3 separate regions of the Homo sapiens genome follow, and regions 1 and 2 are each linked to region 3. The links are contacts of gene promoters, found by promoter capture Hi-C in blood cells and fetal thymus (Javierre and others, 2016). All regions are on one chromosome and are shown on one strand. The core of a region is centred on a gene start or on the middle of the fragment in contact, and the rest is flanking DNA. Distances in the headings are between cores, read along the strand shown. Region 1 overlaps HIBADH (3-hydroxyisobutyrate dehydrogenase). Region 2 overlaps HIBADH (3-hydroxyisobutyrate dehydrogenase). Region 3 holds the start of EVX1 (even-skipped homeobox 1).

Region 1 (3,756 bases), core at 516-3,015, 360 kb before region 3:
TTAATGCTTAGCTTTGATCATTTAGCAAAAAGCTTAGTGCTACTCATTTTATACTCTTGCCTCTTCTGAGGCTTCTTAATGTGCACAACCTGTTTTAAGAAATGTATATGTTTTCAAAGTAAATGTTTGACCTCCCACCTTGATGTTCCCACTTAAAAGCAAAACCCTCCCCTCCCTTATATTTTGAATAACTTGATGAGAATGTGTGTTGTACTAAAACTAAATATATGCACCCTTCAGTATTACCAAAAGAGACCTTTTGGTTTTAAAAATTAGGAAATTTCACTTTTGAAAGTAGTCTAGACAAAGGTACTCATGACATTTGACCCTGAAATTTTTACTTTTAAACTTGATGCAACAGTCTGCTTCTTAGCTTTGTTGTATGCTAATATTTCTACTTATTTAACATCAAAAAGCTGTAGAGGTTTCTCTTTATAGATTATGCCTGTGTTCTGGAATTGCCTCCTGCTGTCCATGAATTGCTTCTTGGCTTGTTGTGTTAGAATTTCTCACCAGGGTCTTTTGTGAGCTATGTAGCCAACATTAAAAAAAAAAAAATCAAATTTGATAGAGTAAACTGGACTAGTAAAAATTATACTTACTATTCATAATTATAATTGAGGTTTCTTGGCTCAGCATATCAATTTTATGCAGTAAGAGTAAGCACATACAAATCTCATGTAATGATATGCATACATATAGTTGCCTACAATGACTGTTTTTCTAGTTATTTCTATAATATTAAAATGATTTTTTTGCTGAAATTCCAGAAATCTAAAAACATTGAAAAATAATGATAATGAGAAAAACAATTCTTACTTGTTAGGGTATATGTTATTTAGTAATGAAGCATTTAGATTTTGGATTCTCTCATTTCAGTTGGAAATAGTATTGGTGTAAGTGAGTGTTGCCATGGGAACCTCCACATAGATATAAAAGGCAATACTGTCTAAGTGGAGGAGGAGGGGCGATGTACTGAAATACCACTGGCCTAAATGATCTATTTTATGTATGTGTGTTGGTGTGGGGGTGAGAGCTAGGATGAAAAGGGGAGAGAAAGTACTACAGAAAGTAAATGTTAGCAGTCAAAGCAATTTACTCACACTTTTGGATTCTTTTAGATAGAAGTGTTTTAAAGCTCGAAATGTGATTCTTAATTATTGGTATCATTTGCACACACTGGGGAGTCTTTGCATATCTTATTTTTAATGTACAGTGGAATATGTTTAACTTACTTGGTTTTAGATAAAATTTAATTTAGTGAAATTTGAGAGTTAGGATTTCAGTCTTTGAAATGGCTTTATACATGTTATTAAAGATGTTATATTTAATTCTTTTTAAATATCTGAAATTTAGAAAAACTGATTAGGACACAGTTAATGTGGCTTTCAAAGAAAAGCTGGCATTTTGGCTTTATAGTATTTTTAATACTAGATTTTTAGTAATTTTCTATAAATATATAGGCAAGGAAACAATGACTTACTGTATCTGCATGTGTAATATTTTATGGTTAAAAAAATAAAGAATGAAAACAACAAAACCTAACATAAAATCTTTTTATATCCCTTAGGAGCACATAAAGATTGTAGAGATAGAGATGATTAGAGAACAACCAATTTAACTGCATGCAAAGTAACATTTTTGTTTTTTGTATGTTTAGGTTACAAAAAAACAATGAAATTGTGCCCAACCTGAGTTAGCCTGGTAAAATGCAGCAGCATCATCATTGCAGTTTTAACACTATGGATTCTGGTTGTCAGATACAAATATAAAAAAAAGAAGAGATATTAACTGACAAAAACTGTTTAAACTTACCTTTTTAGTCAATCCAGAGAAAAAGCTGCCAAGGTAATAAAACATCCAGAAGTTTTTAAGTTAAAACGAGTAATTTAAATTAAAAGGGGTGAGGGGGCATGAGCAAGCAAGGGAGAAGAAAAAAGGGGTGAAAACGACAGGCACTTTGCTTCCTGGGCCTGGCTGTATCTGATGTAAATTAACCAGCAGTGGGGAGTGTATTGTTTCCAACTCCACATAAACAATGCTGGGTATCTCTTTGGGAATGGGTGGGTGCTGGGATGGATGGAGGTTGTTGAGAAGGGAACTGGCAAGCAGAGTTTATAATCTATTAGTGGATTTTTTTTGGCATGCGAAACATAGTAGGAAAGAGTAAATAATGAGAAAGTACGTTTGCATGTAAAATTGATCAAGTGAAACCTTAAAATGATGTGAAATAATTCATAATTGTTAGAGAATGCTTATTTGTCAGTAATCTTCAGGTTTAAAAAAATTTTTTTTAAAGACTGACGCCTTGTAATGTAAAACGTTCAGCAATGAAGATACCCAGTTTTAAGTGTACTTTTGGCATAGTATATCAGCTTAGCTCTAAACATGGCTTCTAAAAACTAAAAGACTAAGGAAACTTGTATTTCTTTGAAAAATAGGTAACAAGAGGGATGAAAAGTCAAGTTTATTTTTAAAAATAAGAGAATGAAAGTAAGAGCTACAACATCCATGTTGTTTTTCTGTTTCAGTTTTTGCCTGCTGCTTTTTCTTCCCTGCACTCTTTCTTGGAATAAAATCTGATAGTCTTAACGGAGTGGAAAGTGTGAAAATGCACACAGCCTTATCAATAAGTAGATTCAAAACATCTCTAATCACCTTAAAGTTTTATAGTGCAGAATTTTCTAGAAGTCAACTGATTAATTAAGTACCTTTTGTGTGTCAGTTTATCACACTGGGTTGTTTCTGTATTTTAAAACATTTCATCCTTATAGCATCCCCATGAAATGCAGATTATCCTCTTTTTTTTTTTTTCAGTGAGGAAGTTGAGTCTCAGGAAGGCACAATAGGACAATATGCAATTTTAAGAATTAGCCTGATTTAGCAAAAATAAGACATTTTAGGTAGAGGATTTTCAATATTATTGCAGGAGACTAATACATTCAAGTTTGGAGTTTCTTTGGGTTGCTAGAATAACTAAAAGGCTTTGGTTTGTTTCATTTAAAAACAAAATAGAGAAAAATACTTTTTCTTGTTCTATCGATATCACACCATTCAATGACCCCACTCCCACACAATACCCACAATCAAAATATAGAAAGAATTATTAGCTAACCAAAAAAAGTTCACATAGGTAATCTAAAGTAATTTTATTTTTGGTTTTAAGTGCTTTAATCTAGTTAACTAAAGGAACAAAAAGGGCAAACATGTATAAACAAGTGAAAACCAGAATTTTTAACCTTCTAACATAATATCCTTCATAGGTCTTTTAGCAATTGGATTATTAAAAAGCCAGAATACCTTATTTAGTTATTAATCATAATATGAGTACACAGGACAGCTTTACGTATTTTCCCCTTTACCTTAAATTTTTAAATTTTTATTTTCCAACATTACCCAGTTAAATGCACTTTTATAACTTTTTAAATACCCAAAATTGACCTTTACAAAATATCAATGAGAATTTCAGTATTCAACATTAATCACTGATAAGCTTTTTTTTAGCACGTTTATAGTATAGGTATTTAACGTTAATACATGATTAACAGTGTATCAAGCTTATTGCACAATCATAATAAAATACACTATTCAGTGCTAATTAGGCATTGCAATTATCATTTGGTGTTGTACTGAAAGAATTATATTGGTAACTGATGCTTTTCATCTTGTTAGTATTTTTAATCCCTCTCAATATATATAATCTTTCAGTAGTTTCATCAAAAGAAATCTGTTCCAACAACTTTAAACAGAGGACCT
Region 2 (3,524 bases), core at 613-3,112, 310 kb before region 3:
GAGTGAATATGGCTCACTACAGCCTCAACCTCCTGGACTCAAGCAATCCTCTTGCCTCAGCCTCCTATGTAGCTGGGACCGCAGGTGGATTGCTTGAGCTTAGGAGTTTGAGACCAACTGGCAAATGGCAAGACGCCATCTCTACAAAAAAATACAAAAAAGTAGCTGGGTGTGGTCATGCCTGTCTGTGGTCCCAGCTATTTGGGAGGCTGAGGTGGGAGGATTGCTCGAGCCTGGGAGTTGGAGGTTGCAGTGAGTCGAGATTGTACCACCACACTCCAGCCAGGGTGACCGAGCGAGACCCTGTCCCCCCAAAAAATGGAAAATAAGCAGATCCTCTAAAACTCAATAAACTAGAATAAAACAAATATAAATCTATTTAAATAAGAAGAGAAATGTGACAAATGTGGTAATTGGAATTAATTAGGAAATTAGTTAACAACAAGAAAAATAGAGTCATTGAATAAAACCAAGAACTGGTCTTTCAGAAGACAAATCTTTAAGAAGTTTCACCAAGAAAAATAGAAACCATAAGCATCAAGAATAAGATAAGAGATTGCACACAGATATGGATGAAATAAGGAATTATAAGTTTGTGGGCAGAAAAATGGAAAGTCCAGAAGAAATAGGTGATTTTCTAGAAAAAAATGTTACCAAAATTGATTCAAGAAGAGGTAAACACATGAGTAAACTTCCAACGACCAGAGATATTCAGACAGCCATTACTAAGAAGGAACAAAGTAAAGATGGTTTTAAAAGACAAATCTTATGTAGTCTTCAAGTAATACTTAGTTCTTGTATATTGTGCTACGGTTTGAATGTGTCCTCTCCAAAATTCAGGTGTTAATACTTACTGGCCAATGTAAAGATATTAAGAGGTGGGGTCTTTAAGAGGTGATTAGGTCATGAGGGTTCCTCCTTTCCTGAATGGGATTAGGCCCCCTTATAAGAAGCTTAATGGAGGGATTTTGTTCTGCTTGCCCTTCTGTCTTCTGCCATGTGAAGACACAATGTTCCTCCCCTCTGGAGGGGATACAGCAACAAGCTGCCATCTTGGAAACAGAGAGCAGCCCTCACCAGACAACTGAACCTGTTGGTGCCTTGATCTTGGACTTCCCAGCCTCCAAAACTGTGAAAAAATACATTTCTGCTCTTTATAAATTTCCCAGTCTGTGATATTCTGTGATAGGAGCACAAAACAGACTAAGACAATATGTAACTATATAATATAGTTTAATATTATTCTTGGTTCTGAGGTCTAGAATAGTACTTAACAAATTTAACAAGAAATGTGTAAGACCTATATGAGGAAGATGACAAAACTATAAAGGCAAAATAAGATCTGAATAAATGGAGACACCACTTATCTGCTTGGAAAAGCATGTAAACATGTCCATTCTCTTGAGATAATATATAAATTGTAATGCAAAACCGTGTTATTTCTTAAAAAAAAAACCTTAAGCTCATCTGGGAGAATAAGTAAATAAAAAATGCCAATTTTTTTTTTTTTCCTTTTTAGACAGGGTCTCACTCTGTTGTTCAGGCTGGAGTGCAGTGGTGTGAACATGCCTCGCTATAGCCTCAACCTCCTAGGCTCAAGTGATCCTCCTGCCTCAGCCTCCTGAGTAGCTAGGACCACAGGCATGTGTTACCATGTTCAGCTAATTTTAAAAATTTTTGTCAAGACAGGGTCTCACCATGTTGCACAGGCAGGTTTCCTGGGCTCAGGCTCTATCCTCTTCTATCCTCCTTTATCCTCTATCCTCCTGCCTTGGCCTCCCAAATATTATAGGCACCTGCCCAAAAAAATTTTTTAATAAGACAATTAGGACTCCATAAATATCAGAACACAGTATAAAGTTACAGTGATTAAAACAGCATCATATTTGTTCAAGAACAGACAGACTGGGAGACAGAGTTAAGTCCCCAAACAGACCTTTGTATGTATAGGTACTTAGAATCTGAGTAAGGCAATCAGATCAGTGGGGAAATGAATTCTTTAATAAATTGTGTTAGGACAATTCATTGTGGGGAGCAGATCCCTACTTCACCCCATACACTGAAAATAAATAGCAGATGGATTAAATAACTGATTGTTTTAAAAAATGTGTAAGAAGGCCAAAGAAATGTCTAAGAGAATTCTTTCAAAATCTTAGAATGAGGAAAACCTTCTGAAGCAAGACAAATAATAAAAAACCATTAAAAAATTAACAGATCCAAGAATTGAAAACACACACACATCTTTGTGACAAAAAGAAAAGTTAAAAGGCAACAACAGACTGAGGGAAATTATTTGCAAAATATATAACAGAGTAGACATAAAATCTATAATTAACAAGAAAAAGACCAAGAATCAGGAGAAAAGTAAAGAAACATGATAGGCAGTTTACTGAAGAGGAAACCCAGTGAACTATGTAAAAAGATACTCGACTTTTCTAGAGGACACAGAATGACTATCGTGTATCAAGCATTGCTTATGTAGTCTTTCACAGTCCTGTCGAAGCAGATATTATTAACAAGTGAGAAAACTGAGTCTTAGAATTAGTAACTTATGGTGGACGTTTTTTCAAATACTGTAATTTATCAAAGTGGAATGTTTTTTGCATTAAGTTAAAATCCTTTCTGTATTCTCTAATTCACGACTATCTTTAAATTTTGTTTTCAGAATACACTTGAAGGTGTTTATTTAGTATGCCCCTTGAAGAGAAAGGGCAAGGAAAGAAATGCAGTTGGCTACCCTTGATCATGTGACCCTAACAGGTTAAGCTTTCAGGACACACACTTGCATGCATATATATTTGACTTGAGAAGATAGACATGATTTTTACGAGGATTTGTTTCTGTTCTACTTTGGCAAATACTGCATGAATCATGTCTCTAGATTTTGACTGGCTGGGTACTTTTTTTATATGCCTGAACTTCTTGACATAGTATTGAATTGTCTTTCAAGTGATCCAAATAAATAATACATATCTATACATTTATATCACTGTAAATTTGGAAATGCTGCCATAAGTGGGTAATGGTAACATCATAACTGAATGGACATGCAGGAGACCAATTTGGGGTCTATTTGAGGAGAGGGTAGGGGGACAAAAGGTGTTTGGACATGTTGAATTCATTGTGCTTCTGAGGGCCAGTAGTAAGAATTAGCTGATAGATAGTTGAAATTTTGACTCTAGACTTGGAACTGACAAGTTGAGTCTTGTCTTTGTACTCAGTGTTCTACTGAAACAAGTTGTATGTAGTCAGGAGGTGGGTTGTATTAAGGGCTGAGGAGGGAGAAGGCCATTATCCATAATAGGTTTATGTATTTGGCTTAGTCTTTATTTAAAAAAAAAAAAAAAAAAAAAGTAGAGCAAGAAATGTTCCTTTTGCTGTGATTGGTTCTCATGAAACCGGAAGAACAGTTCTCCCCACTTAAATTACCACCATTAAGCAGTGGTTGCCTTTATCACATATACAGAATTCTGTAAAAATTTTATTCCAAGGTTTTAGTCCTTGAAGTAGACCAAAAATAAAAT
Region 3 (3,479 bases), core at 901-3,400:
AAGGGACACCCTGTCAGCCACCTCAGTAACTGTTTCTGCTAGGGTACTGCGGCCTCTGGGGAACCCAAGAAGGGAAAATAAGGGCCTGCCCTTGATTGGGTAGGTAGAGGTCTTTGGGGAGGCCTTCCCTTCCTCTAAGGCATCCTGGGTACAGGGGTTCCCAGCCGCCCTTCCCACCTGCCCTGGAGCATAGGTGAGATTTCTGCCTCCCGTTGGCAGGGCGTGCACTTCTGACAGGCACATGAGTTGAGATGCACCTTTGTGCTAGAGGGTTGTAAACTCTGGGTCAAGTGCATTGTAGTATGCTGGGCATTCAGAGAGTTTCCTTGCTCTTATGTGTGACGGGCTGCCAGAACAGGTGTGGGAATGTGTACTAGGTTCCGTGTATTGCAGGGCTGGAGTGAGAATGCATGTTGAGTATCTTATTTATTACCTTAGTATATGTGAGTGGAGTCCAGGTTGTTCTGAGGGTTATGGGAAGGAGGCTGGGTGAAATCGGTGATAAGATAGTAAGGGGTAGGTGCAGGTATTCAACAAGGCGTTGGCTGCCAAGACCAGGGGGTGGTCTTTCTCCCCCCCGCCCCCAGGCTCTTTCCACCCACTCCTACAGTTCTGTGGAGGAGTGTCTGCTGGTGGGCTCCCCTCTCCTCCCCCCCACCAACCCGCGCCCAGTTTTCTACCCCCTTCTGGGGAGGTGATTGTTGGCACAGAGGGAAACTCCCTTCCGGGCTATCCACCCCTTTCCCATTAGCCTTTGGTGGGGAGGGGTTCTCCAGTTAAACCAGCCCCCCTTTGGGCCTACCTCTGAGAAGGGTGGGGCTCCAGCCCCCTGCAGCTCCTTTTCCTTTGGGTGGAGAAGTGGGACTAGGAAGGAAAGGGGAAGGGGGGAGGACCCGATCTCTGCCTTTTCAAATGCAACCGGAGACCAAAGGCAATTAGACCATTGGGACCATTTCCGACCTGGCGCCGCGAAGCCCGGGAAGTGACAAGGTAATTTGGACCTCTGACCGACGTGCAAACTGGTCGGAGGGCTGCAGCACCCGGGCTGCCCAAGTGGGCCGCAATTTTACGGTCCTTTATGGACTCCTGGCTTCCGCGCCTCCATGCCTCTTACACCCTGCCAGCCACAAACTGCCCGGATCGGCGTTTGATCTTGCCCTCGCCTGGGGAAAGTGTCTTCCCCGAGCAATTGAAGCATTCCCCGAGCAGTTGAAACACTGGGTGCTTGGGGTGAGCTTCGAATCCCCCAAGTCCAGGACTTGCATCCGCCCCCTCAGCACCCCGCACTCAAGGCACTGCTGTCACCCTCAGTCCCGCCAATGCCAGAACACAGTAGGAGACCCCCGCCAGAACGCAGATAGCAGAGAGAGTTGCTCAGGTGGGTCCCCCCAGCCATCCTGCCCTAGGGGAAGGGAGTGTCTTCCTCCTGGCCTGCGCCGAAGTGAAGGGTGGGCGCAGTGGGAGGCCCGGGGAGCGGAGGGGCACGGTGGCTACCTTTGCTGTGCTGGTACTCGGCGTTCCCGGTGGCGCAGTCCGGGGTGCAGCTCACCTCGATTTCTTCATAGAAATCCGACTCGGTGTCCGAGCTACTGGGTTGCCCCTGTCCGGAGAGGCTGTCGACTGAGGGGGCCGGGGGTCCTGGGCCGAGCATGGCCGCCCCAGCTACCTGGGGCTCGGCGCCCGGCCCCGCCGCGCTGCCTGCGAGTCCATCTACCGGCTCCTCCTCCGGGCCTCCCCCGCCGCGCTCCCGGGTGGCCGGAGGGACGGCCCGAGGGCTCAGGCAACCACGGGGCACCATTTTCTCGGGCGGCTCCGGCAGCGGGCTGCCCACGGCTTCGGACAAATTTGAGACTCTCTTGCCAACCAGAGTGCCAAGCTGACCCCCATCCAGAAACACAACCATGTCCTTTCGGCTCTCCATCCCGGGGCTCTCCGGTGGGGGAGGGGAAAGCCCCAAGTGAGTTCCTAACCCCGGCTCCCTGGGTCTCCAGCGGCCGGACGGATCTTGGTTGCAAGAGGGAGAAAGAAAGGCCGGGTGCCTGGGAGGGCGCGGAGCTGCTGGAGCGCGGTCTGGACCGCGACCGCGGCGGTGGCGGTGGGAGCTAGGGTCACCTTGTGAAGCGAGCGCTCCTCTGTGCCGCACCGCCTCTGGGAGGAAGCCCCATTGCCCTCTTCTTTCTAAGCTGTCATCCTCCTGCTGCAATCGTCATTACAGTACCGCTGGTGACGCCACTCGGCGAGCGCAAGTGGATAAATAGAAACGTCTGCCACAGCGAAGATGAAAGGAAACCCGCAGCTAATGGCTCGGCAGTGATGCGCCAGGTGTGGGCCTCGCTCGATTGGGGAGGAGAGTGTGAAAACAGACAGAGAGACACACACACTGAGAGAGGGAGACACCCAGGCAGAGGGGATGCAAATGGAATTCCGCAGAAAGAAAAGAGAGCTTAACGCGCGCGGCGAGTTCCGCAGGGGCAGCGGGACTCGGTAATTAAATAAGCTTTTGATTTTTTCTTTTATTGTTGTTTTGACTTTTGTTTTCTTAACTTGGTGCCTTGATCTAACACCGATGAAAGAATCCATAACTGCATTTTAGAAGTGTGAAGCCCGGCTTACAAGCCTCAATTCTGTCGGCATTATTACAACTGTCTGCCCCTGGCAGCTAACCTCAAACTGGCTGAAAAGTCTTTTTACAAGCTACGGAAAAATGTATTCCCCCGCCCCAAGTTGACTGGAGAGCTTGAGGCTGGGCCATCTTTTCCTCTTTTCTCCTCCCTCTCCCTACCCACCTCTGTCTCCTTACTCCTGCGAACCAAACTTTGCTATTTTTCTTCCCTAAGGGGCAAGAAATAAATACCTTATTATTATTTTTTAATTTAAAGACCCGCCTTGGCTTCTGTAAGAGTGTGTGCTGATTTCTTTTAAATACCTCCTTCCCATCTAGATGGCCTTAAGTTTTCCACAGCCTGGCTTCATCTTGAGATGGCTATTCGTACAAGAAGTCGCTTTCCCGTTTGCCTGGACCTCGCCTGCACTCCAGGTATGTTGGGTGGGGAGAGTTTCTAAGAGTTGTCTTTTTTTTTCCCTTGCCCATATTTTAAAGTATTCGTTCAGAATCAGCGAAGTCTCCTGGAAAGAGGTTTTTCGAATGAAGAGGCGCCAGGAATGCGGCCCCTGCTGTGGCAGTACTGGAGGCCCCTACTTGGGAGAAGGCAGTAGCTTTCACCGCGCTATTTTGGGCAGGGGTTCAGCCTCCCCGAGTACAAAAAGGTTGGGGTTCATAGAGGTTTGACTCATAAGGTCCTCTCCCAAGTCCCTGCCTAGGGGCAGTGGTACCTGTCTCCAAAAGTGGATGGCGTTTGAGGTAGAAGAGAGTGAAGTCGCTGAAAATGCCCTAAAACAGCAAGTAAGTAGGGACTCTGATGAAGGGCTGGAGGTGGGGGCAGGGGTTGTGGAACTTAATATCTGGAAGCTGCCATAGG

What was found. Contacts are between HindIII fragments. The CHiCAGO score rates a contact against its expected background, and 5 or more counts as called.
Region 1: a fragment that was not itself captured here is called in contact with the fragment with the promoter of EVX1 in region 3 in 1 of 17 cell types (M2 macrophages); the score reaches 6.1 in M2 macrophages.
Region 2: a contact is called between a fragment that was not itself captured here and the fragment with the promoter of EVX1 in region 3, in 1 of 17 cell types (M2 macrophages). The highest score is 5.7, in M2 macrophages.

What each region holds. Positions count from the first base shown.
Region 1 is chr7:27,601,230-27,604,985 of GRCh38, reverse strand. The region is part of intron 4 of HIBADH (3-hydroxyisobutyrate dehydrogenase); the gene reads left to right. LOC107986699 (a long non-coding RNA gene) reads left to right here. Exons shown (of 2, transcript XR_001744911.2): 2 at 1-2,592. Among named protein-coding and RNA genes, the nearest start is that of TSL, 13 kb to the left of the region's middle. RefSeq lists an enhancer at 1,589-2,349. The HindIII fragment of the contact is 3,461 bases long and covers 35-3,495 here.
Region 2 is chr7:27,555,132-27,558,655 of GRCh38, reverse strand. All of the region lies in intron 4 of HIBADH (3-hydroxyisobutyrate dehydrogenase), which reads left to right. Among named protein-coding and RNA genes, the nearest start is that of TSL, 59 kb to the left of the region's middle. The HindIII fragment of the contact is 1,813 bases long and covers 956-2,768 here.
Region 3 is chr7:27,241,473-27,244,951 of GRCh38, reverse strand. EVX1 (even-skipped homeobox 1) reads right to left here and starts at 2,150. Exons shown (of 3, transcript NM_001989.5): 1 at 1,495-2,150. The coding sequence starts at 1,921. EVX1-AS (EVX1 antisense RNA) reads left to right here. Exons shown (of 4, transcript NR_120507.1): 2 at 2,942-3,037; 3 at 3,311-3,403. RefSeq lists an enhancer at 1,655-2,532. The HindIII fragment of the contact is 5,233 bases long and covers 1-2,499 here.